Linked DNA regions of Homo sapiens: regions 1 and 3 are each linked to region 2. Evidence: promoter capture Hi-C in 16 types of primary human blood cells and fetal thymus (Javierre and others, 2016). All regions are on one chromosome and are shown on one strand. The core of a region is centred on a gene start or on the middle of the fragment in contact, and the rest is flanking DNA. Distances in the headings are between cores, read along the strand shown. Region 1 overlaps FGF12 (fibroblast growth factor 12). Region 2 holds the start of CCDC50 (coiled-coil domain containing 50). Region 3 overlaps P3H2 (prolyl 3-hydroxylase 2).

Evidence for each region. Contacts are between HindIII fragments. The CHiCAGO score rates a contact against its expected background, and 5 or more counts as called.
Region 1: a contact is called between a fragment that was not itself captured here and the fragment with the promoter of CCDC50 in region 2, in 1 of 17 cell types (endothelial precursors). The highest score is 6.4, in endothelial precursors.
Region 3: a contact is called between a fragment that was not itself captured here and the fragment with the promoter of CCDC50 in region 2, in 1 of 17 cell types (neutrophils). The highest score is 5.9, in neutrophils.

Annotation. Positions count from the first base shown.
Region 1 is chr3:192,412,479-192,415,732 of GRCh38, reverse strand. The region is part of intron 2 of FGF12 (fibroblast growth factor 12); the gene reads left to right. Among named protein-coding and RNA genes, the nearest start is that of FGF12-AS2, 100 kb to the left of the region's middle. The HindIII fragment of the contact is 1,754 bases long and covers 663-2,416 here.
Region 2 is chr3:191,327,351-191,330,643 of GRCh38, reverse strand. It overlaps CCDC50 (coiled-coil domain containing 50), which reads right to left and starts at 1,250. Exons shown (of 12, transcript NM_178335.3): 1 at 921-1,250. The coding sequence starts at 969. UTS2B (urotensin 2B) reads left to right here and starts at 118. Exons shown (of 9, transcript NM_198152.5): 1 at 118-230; 2 at 1,935-2,013. RefSeq lists enhancers at 481-1,081, 1,082-1,683 and silencers at 1,095-1,374, 1,475-1,554. The HindIII fragment of the contact is 9,896 bases long and covers 1-3,293 here.
Region 3 is chr3:190,102,927-190,106,213 of GRCh38, reverse strand. All of the region lies in intron 1 of P3H2 (prolyl 3-hydroxylase 2), which reads left to right. Among named protein-coding and RNA genes, the nearest start is that of P3H2, 16 kb to the left of the region's middle. The HindIII fragment of the contact is 4,214 bases long and covers 1-3,287 here.

The DNA of each region.
Region 1 (3,254 bases), core at 290-2,789, 1.1 Mb before region 2:
AGAGAGAGAGAGAAGAGAAGTATCAGAACTGAAAATATAGGCCTAGATATGGGGATGGGGGTGATCAGAGCAGAAACCTAGGTACCATGTACCCTCTGAGGATATCAGATTTAATATTTAGGCAGAGAATTTTAGGGAGTGTTGATAAAACAAAACAATCAACTTTGGAAATGTGGAGGCTACCCTTGAGTTACCTGAGCTTATTTCCTGATACAAAGAGTTGATACCCCATTCTTCACTTTGGGATGACCCATGCATCTATTTGGCTCAAAAATCTGGGTGGATGGATTGATGAATTAATTCATTTATTTGAGTATTTTTTGAGTATCTGGCTATGTGCAAAGATTATTTTAAGCACTAGAGATAAGAAAGTAAACAAAATAGACAATGGCCCTGTCCTTATGGGTATTACATTCAAATAGGGATCTTCTAGCCGAGTTTCTCTTTGAAAAGGAAAAGGTGCCACTGGGTTAGTGACAGTGGGACTTAGAGTAGGGCTAAAATGATGGGCGGTCTGTTGTGACAGGTCTTTCAGCATCCTTAACCCAGCTATGAAGGAAAATAACCAAGTATCAACCATCTCCTAGGTGGTATAAGCCAAACCAATGTACATTTTTAAGGAATGAAAATGGAGGAAATTTATATTTTTCCCCTTATAAGCTTCTTTACTTTCTGTTTTAACTTAGTTTCCCTTTGATTTTCTTATTGAGCTCGACTTGAATTACTAAACTAAGAAGGAGAGTGTTTCAAGACCACCCTCCTAGAACCAAAGAAAACATAGTACCCTATCTTGGCCAACAATAGTAAAACCAGGAGTAGCTTCCTCATCTAGAAAAAGGAAAGAGCTTCACGGGGAGAGAATTGGGGATACTTGTTTCCTCTCCCTTCCAACACAAAATGATCTCTTCAAGGTCATTCACAAGATGTGAAACCATGTTAGAAGCTAGTGAATGGAAGTACATTTGGCATTCTCATTTTTCCCCTCCAGGTTACTTTAGTTAGGGCAGTAGTCACATTGAGGTTAAAAGGCCTGGATTAAACTCATAGATCTTCACTCATTGATTGTATGACCTTGGGCGATCACATTACTTATTGGAGTCTCAGCTTGTGAAACTGAATTATTATTTTCCCTTTAGCTTCCATCATAAGATTGTTGAAGAGTCTCAGTGAGATAATACATGAGAAGATGATTTGTAATTAGTAAAGAGTTACATAAATGTATGTGATCTGCACATTCTTATTTTATTGACTTTATTACATGATTGTAATTATTCATGGTGTTTTGTTTTTGTTGACATGCGTATAGCACAGAGGTAAAAGGGAAACTCTGGAAATAAATTATATGGGTGTGAATCTGAACTCTGGCAATTCTTAGCTGGGTGACCTTGGTTAAACAACTTAACCTCTCTGTCCTGGTTTCTTCATTTATAAAATGGCGATATGACAGAACTTACCTCATAGAGTTGTTGTAAGGATTCAATGTGTCAATAATTGTAATGCACTTATAAGTGTGTAGGGCACTTCTCATTGGCTCACATTAATTACATCTATGTTTCTTATCAAAATACCTATTCTCCAGAACATTGAAAATTTCCCTTTTTGGGCAATGATACCACCCTTCATCTATGTCATAAAGAGGAATTAAATCTGTTCTCTTTTCTGTTTTGGAAGATGATCAAAACCAGATGGACATATAACATGTAGTAATTCAGTTGTCGAATTGTTGAATAAAGCACCATGAATAAATTTGCTATATAAAGGAATTTACAAATTATTAGAAAGTAGTTCTTTATATTGCTTTTGTCAGCCTACTGTAACTGACAATATGTCAGAAAAAAGCAAGTGGAAATACAGCTACTTTATATAATAAAATTCATGGAGAAAAGGTCTTCTTCCATTTGCTGTGGCAGAGCCCAGTGAGCTCATATTCACCCGACTTTGAGTCAGGGGCCTGATCTCAGAGCAAGATGATGTATGAGCAGAGCTAGACTTCTTTGTGTTCTCAAGACAAGGACACTGACAATATTCCACTAATGAAATTCTGTTTGCCATGACAATGTCAAGGTTAATCATTCATTTCAAGTAAATTTTCAGCCTTTGTTAAATACATTCCAAGAGTGAATGATGATGTGTATGAATCATAAGGTGTGTTTTCCTGTTTTAGGAAATCTGTATTTTATGGCAGGGACTTAATTTAAATGGAGATTTTAATAACAGCATGGTCATTCTCATACTTTACGTTATTATCACATCTTCTTTGAGTCTTTCAAGAGCCTAGTTAGGTACTGCTAGTATTATTATGTATCTATTTTGCAGATGTAGTTTAGAGAGGTTGAATAACGTGTCCAACAGCATACAGCTAGTGGGCGATTAAAACAAGAGCCAAGAAAGTTCATAATGTCATGAACTGGAAGCTTGTTGAGGGCAGAGAGAATGTGGAAGTGTCTGGAATTTCACGGTAACTGACAGAGCCCTGGATGTAATCTGTGGACAATGCAATGTTTAAAATGAATGTGTAAACTAGCCCTAATAGTAGATTTGGAAGTTGAAAGACTTGGCCTATGAATAAGCAAAAGACCAAAAAGCCTCTGTTTTTCCTTTTAAAATGTGGAGATAATTAAGACTGCCCATGTTTTTATTTGTTTGACTAGAGCCCAAAAACATAGACTATATATATATAACTAAATATAACTACATAATTATCATTTTGATGTGCATTTGACAATTTTCTTCAAAGTAATTAAAACTTCTTCCACTCATAATGTCTTCAGAATAGGAATAAGAAATTCTTAAGTTGTTCAAAGAAAGCATAAAAATCAAAGTATTGGTATCCCTGGGACATAACCCTTTAAATACCTGGTTGTTAGTTTAACCTAAATCATCAGTAGGTTGGCTTAATTTCATTCCTGATCCCAAAATGCAAAGATATTGGAAATGTACGAGTAACTGTGGAGAAAGACTTATGAGATTTAGTGGCCCAGGTAGGAAACCTACGAATTTCTATATATAAAATAAATTGATTTAAGCATTGCTTCTGAGCTCAATATCCATATATTTAGGTCTTAGCTAACTTCTTAAATTTCTTTATACTCACCTCTTCTCACTGGGGAAATGGAGTAAATTATGCTGATGATGACTTAAAAAGCCAAAAAGCTCTCTGACAATAGCTGCAGGAGTGCGAGGGAAAAAGTAGTCTTTGTTGTCCGATTGAATCCAAAACACTACATTCTTTTAATAGAGATCTAAACACAGAA
Region 2 (3,293 bases), core at 1-2,500:
ATGACATTCACAACAGAAGCCGATTTTGCAAAGCCCTTGGAACTTAGGGGTCTGCGTCAGCACTCTGGAACGTCTATGCTTCCTAGGACCAAAGAATAAACAAAGATAACTCAAGGCATAAGGCGATCCAGCACCTAAGATCTCAGCAAAAAAAAGCTAGGTCCTGAGGCAGCTAGTGGAAAAACAAGAGAAGGGAAGTCAAAAGGCTACTTGCTGTCAGCTAAAGCCAGGTCAGTACTAATCTCTACTTTCCTGGACATTGGTACAAAAAGCAATGACAAGGCCATCAGTCCCCTGTTCCCCTCGCTCACTATTGTGTGTGTGTGTGTGTGTGTGTGTGTGTGTGTTTTGTTTGTAAGAAAATGCTTATAGTGGCTTCCCGCCCGCGCAGAACACAGCCAAGACTAAACTTTTAAACCTTGAGGAAGGTGGGAAAGTCAGCCAGCCAGACGCCGGCCTAGGAAAAGTAGGGAGAGAAGGAGGGAAAGAGTCATGTTTCAAAACAAAGGCTCCACACGGAACTGAATGTCAACCCCTCTCCACTTCCCAGCCTTCAAGCCAGCCAGGCTGGGCCTCGATTTTTTAGAAGCGGAGTAAGTCAGATTCACCCGGCTCTCAGCGTCCACTGAGGCTTTGCGATGCACGAGAACACGGGCACAGCCACCTACTTGCTGGGGCTGCTGCTAGCCCCCCCCCCCCCCAACCACCCCCTTGAGAAAAAACGGGCTTGGAACGTCGGAGACTTGCCCAACGTCCCACACTAGAACCTGAATTCAATTCCTTTCACGTCCGGGCAAGGCCAACGCAGGGCGGGCACCGGGCGAGGGCCGCGGGAGCCGAAATGGCAACGCCCCTGACCTGAGAGAACCTCGGGCTGGGAGAGGGGAGGGTCCCGCGCGCTCTCCCTCCGGGGCCCTTACCTTCCTTGACTCCAGGCAGCTTGGACTGGTCGATGCTGACTTCAGCCATACCGGGCCAGGGTCCCGGTTGCCCCTTTAACGCGGGCTTCCCGGTCACCGCCGGCGCCGAGCGGGGCCCCGAGCGCAGCAGCAGCGCCGGACGCGGCGCAAAGTCCGGCCGGCAGGGCTCGCAGGCCGGAGAACGGAGCGGGTCGGGCGGGCAGGGGCTGGTGACCAAAGCAGCGGGAGACGGTCCCCGAGGCACCAAGCTGGCGGCCCAGCTGCCCCGCCGCGGCCACCTGCTCCGCGTCCCCGGCCCCAATCGATACCAAATATCCGGAGCCCGGAAATGGACCGGGGCCGTCCAGTACGGAGGGAGAGAGGAGACAGAAAGGCGGGCGGGCCGGCTGGGGGAGGGGGAGCTGCAGGTCTGTAACCGCAATTGCGAGTGGCTGGCGAGCGAAGATCAGCGCCCGCTGCCGCCTCGCTGTTGTCTCCTTTGTGCTCAGTGACGCGCCGCCTGAGGCTGGGGCCCCGCTGTGCTCCCGCCCCCGGGCCCTGCCCCCCTCCTACGGGAGGGTCGCGTCTTTAGGTGGGGGCCTTGTATCCTAAAGGCCTCAACAAAAAGGCCACACGGGTCACCTAAAACATAGTCTTTCCCGTGAGCGGTGTAGTCAGCATTCTGTGGTCTGGTTCTGGGATTGAGATTAACACAGGATGTTTACTGCATGCTTGCCTCTCTCTCATACACTCTTTTTGCACCCGGAATTAGAGGAGAGATGGTAGATGGCCATAAAAACCCCAAATACAACGTACAGAATGAAGAGCAGCTGATAAAATTCTGGGCCAGTTTGGAGTAGAGTGTGTACACAATCAGCTGGGAGAACTGAGTCATTCATTCATCAAAATCGCATGAATGTGTCTACCAAGTGTGATGTTAGGTACTGTGGGTGATAACGAGGCGTCAGACTTATCTCTGTTATAGCGCTGCACACATTGGATTGTAATTGTGACATTTCTATCTCTCTAAAATAGACAACCTCTCCTGTTTCATCTCCTGGCAACAGAATGCATCCTCCTTTTGGGAAACTGCCTCTTTCCCCACTCCTCAGAGGTGAGCTTCTCTCCCAAACGTGTGCCATGTCTGAACCTCGAGACTACCCCATCACTCTTCCCCCTTCCTCCACCGACATGGGTTCATCGAAGGGTGGCTGGGTGACCAAGACAGGTCAAACAGAATACTTTCCTGGGTACATAAAGAGTTACATATTCTGTTTCTTGTGGAAAAGATCTGCCTCTAGGAGATGATGAGGCCAAACTGAAGACAGAAGCAAAGAGAAGAGAAAGGGAGATGAAGAGGGCATGTTCTGATGTTACCACAGTAGCAAAGCAGGATATCCCCAGAGCAGCTGGCATTTCAGCAACTCCTGGATTCTGGGATCTACAACCCGCAAACTCTCAACTTATCCTCAGTTTTGCTTAAGCTAGTAATAGTTGATTTTCTGTCACTCACAGCTCAGAGTCCCAGTATGAGAGGCCACGTAGGGGAGGTTTTATTTGAACTTGACATTGAAAAGTAGGTGGATTTTAGGCTAGCAAAAATTTAGAAGACTTTCAAGGCCAGAGGGTAGCAAAGTATAGCCCACAGGCCAAATCTACGCCACTGAATTTGAATGACTGTTTTTTATATGTTCAAATAATTACATTTCAAATCACTACATAAATAGGACATAATATTTTCGACCTTGCCTCTTAAGCCTCAAAGTCTAAAATATGCTTTACAGGAAAAGTTTACCCACCCCAGTGCTAGGCAGAGATAACACTCAGCAGGTTAAATGTGGGAATAAGAAGGAAGTGGTATTAGAAAGGTAGATTTATGGGAATTTTTTAATTGTCCTGTAATCTAGTAATTTTTTTTAACTTCCTGTGGTCTAGAGAATATTTATAACAGCAGTATTTTCTGTTTCCCTCCCCAAATCTATCGTTTCTACTTCTCTACCAAGCCGTGCCTTTGGATGCCTACAGATAAATCACTAGGCCCCTTTGACCTGTGGCTTCCTGTTGTGATTGACCAATGGGAAGCACTGGCAGAAAATCAAAAGAAGGGAGGAGAGAAATATCAGAGTATTCTTCTTTCCTTTAACCCAAAATTTTGGCCACAGTCCTGTCCCTCTATGACTACAGGGCCTGTGTAGAGGCCTCTTTTCCATGGCCTCAGCTCTCATGGGTCTCTAATAAAACAATTTGTTTCCAGTGTCCCTTCAGGCCTAGAGTGTGATGGCTTCCCCTAGTTCCTTTTGGCTCACTGCAACTTCTGCCTCCCAGGTTCCAGTGATTCTCGTGCCTCAGCCTCCCGAGTAGCTGGGATTACAGGTGTGCACCACAACGCCTGGC
Region 3 (3,287 bases), core at 161-2,660, 1.2 Mb after region 2:
ATTCTCTGATTTCACAATTTCCTTGAGATTGTGTCCTCTTCTTTGTATTTTTTTTAAATGGACTCTGTTCAAACACATTCCAAATCTTCTCTGTTTCATATTAATAGATAAAATCTCTTCCCACAGACACATCTTGGGAATTTTAAACCTCTTTAAGCCTCCTTCCTACCCTGATTTCTTGTACCCATGGGAGATGACTTAAGTTTGAGAATCAACAAACATTTCTTCATCATAGACACCAAAATGAAACTGCTTTTTGTTTAGCAGTCAGGTAAATGGGAGAGTAGCTCACAAAAAGTAGTAGAGGGTTACAAGTCTAGGAATCAAGCAATTTAATCTCTACACCCAGCTCTGTCATAAATGGCTTTCTCTAGTCCTTGGGGTTTGCATTTGGACTAGGGCAGCATTGGGCCAGTTACTTAATAAGAGCTCTTCTGCATCTGCCAGCTTGAGATGCTAAAATACTTTAGTGGATTGGTACAGCAAGCCAACAGTCTACCTGTGGAAACAGAAAACTGATGAGATTATAAAATAATGGAATATAAAATGCAATGGACATAAATTAGTTTAAAAGTTTACAGGAAAGGAATTACTTCCAGTGTATCTAATGCTGGTCCTCATCTTGGGGCAGTGAATCCCTTTAAAGTAAAACTTGAAAGGAAGTTACACAAATATTTAATTTAATGGTAATTTAAGAGGACAGAATAAACTAGGCAATGTTCAAGAGAGACAAAGAAGATAGATAAAAGGCTCAAAACCATATATGAGAAACAGCTGATATAGAGGATGAGTAAGCTAATGAAGAAAAGACAAGCAACAACAACAAAAAATCTCCTTTTGCAGTTTCAAAAAAGATTATCATTTGAGGCGATTGTTCCTGATCTTTATGGCACTGAAGAATTGAAGCACTAGGACCAAATAACAGAAATTACAGAAAACAAGATCTCGGCTCAAATGTGAAAGACTTTCCTCACACTATTCTGAGATCTAATAGGAAGCCCTAGAAGGTGTTCAAACGTGAGTCAAACAAATACCTAATGTAGAGGTTGTATTTAAGGTGCAAGCACCAGAGTGATGTTGAAATGAATGAGATTTAAAATATTTTCCAATCCAAAGTCTATAAGACTCCATGATTTTGTGAAATGAAAATTTCTCTTGTACTCACAGAAAGGATCATTAAAGTCTTTTTCATTGAAAAAGGCATACAGTTTTCTAGCTTCCTTTTGAATTCTAGTTAATGTATTTTAGGCCATGGTTGCCAGCCTACTCCCTATAAATAGTTACATAATGCAAAAAAGAAAAGAGGAAAAAACAGTACCAAGGCCCTAAGACACACATGCCAGAACACACATGCATGGAATATTTAGCAGTAATAATATCCACATGCATGATTGGCATCAGTCCTCTGATTTCCGACTCTTGTCTCCATGAGATGACATCTGAGATGGATTTAGTTGTGGTTACATAGTACCACTGGGGGTTTTAAGTTAAATTTATTACAACTGATCAGGACATCCGTGCTAGGAATTGAAAGTAGGTATGCTTCTCTGAGCGAATATATCGTGATATACTAAGTAAAAGCAATTTCATTTATAGAGGCTTTGCAATCCTATTCTGATTTGCTTCCTGTATGTACTGTCCAGAGGCCAATCTTTAAACCTGGTGGTGTTCTACACTGTAGTTCATTTCTCAAACTTTGATACTGTTAAAGAAATTTAAAGGGTATTAAAATATTAAATATTTTATAATAATATTTAAATAATCCCTTTATCCAGCTCCCTCCTCTTTGAAGTTCTTCCCTCACTCTCTAGTTGGGAGCGGGAGGAGTGCCCTGATACCATCACTGGAGTGGAGGGGAGTGGGTGGAAGTCCATGCTGTCTCGGACCAGCTGACATAAAGGTGAATTGAGCCGTGGTTTTTGCCCCATGCTGTTTGGCTGGAGTAGGATAGATATTATCACTAATATTTCTGTTCTGCTATGCCTAATCCTTTGACTAGAGAGAGCATGCTTTCTAAATGATCTTTGAATGATGATGATGATGAATATAATTTGGAATGGATATGATTTCAGATCTCTAGCAGAGTTTTGTTACCAATACTTTACCACAAAAAGCTACTGAAGGCAGGGTGCAGTGGCTCACTCCTGCAATTCCAGCACTTTGGGAAGCCGAGGCTGGCAGATCACTTGAGGTCATGAGTTCAAGACCAGCCTGGCCAACATAGTGAAGTCCCGTCTCTACTAAAAATACAAAAATTAGCCAGATGTGGTGGCGGGCACCTGTAATCCCAGCTACTTGGGAGGCTGAGGCACGAGAATCGGTTGAACCTGGGAGGCAGAGGTTGCAGTGAGCCGAGATCGCACCACTGCACCCCAGCCTAGGTGACAGAGCAAGACTTCATTGAAAAAAAAAAGCTACTGAAAAACTTTTCTAATGTTGAATAAAAATCTCTAAGTCAACTTTGTCACCACTACTAAATTAACCATAAGTCGGTGAACCGGATTGTGCTATAGTTCATGTCAAGTTGTTGAGTATTCTTTCCTACCTCTGCTTTAGAAGTATGGAAAAGTCCCAGTGCTCTTTCAGCCTTGCCACCAGCCTGCCCTTTCACTTGTTTATATGTCTGTAGATGAGCTCCTCTAGAACACTGTGATTTAACTCTTCATAAATAAATACAGATTTGATCATCCTGGTCCACTTTCCCAATAAGATAGTTAACAAAGGTTTACCTAATGTGTTATTTATGGAAAACCAATTTACACAGAGTTTGGAATAGGGAAAAAAAGTTTCTAAGTAATGATTTCTTTTCCTGTAACCCATTGTCCCAGATTAAGTCTGATAGTCTTATGATCAATACCTCCTAAATTCCAGATTATTGTGTGTGAATCTTTGACCTAAACATTTACATATGGCTGATAGTACTATTTGAGTCTTGCACGTGATGGAAACTCATGCTTGTTGAATTTGAATTGTCAGTTCTCCTAGGACATAGGTTTGTCCATATGATTTTACACAGTTATTTAGAAAACTAGCATACCTCAGAAATATTGCAGGTTTGGTTCCAGACCATTGCAATAAAGCAAGCCTCACAATTTTTATTTTTTGGTTTCCCAGTGCATATAAAATTTGTGTTTACATTATAATTTAGTCTGTTAAGTATGCAATAACATTATGTCTAAAAAACAATGTACATACCTTAATTTTAAAAAATACTTTATTGCTAAAAAGTATCTGAGCCTTCAGCAAGATACAGTCTTTTTGCTGGTGGACAGTCTTTCCTCAGTGTT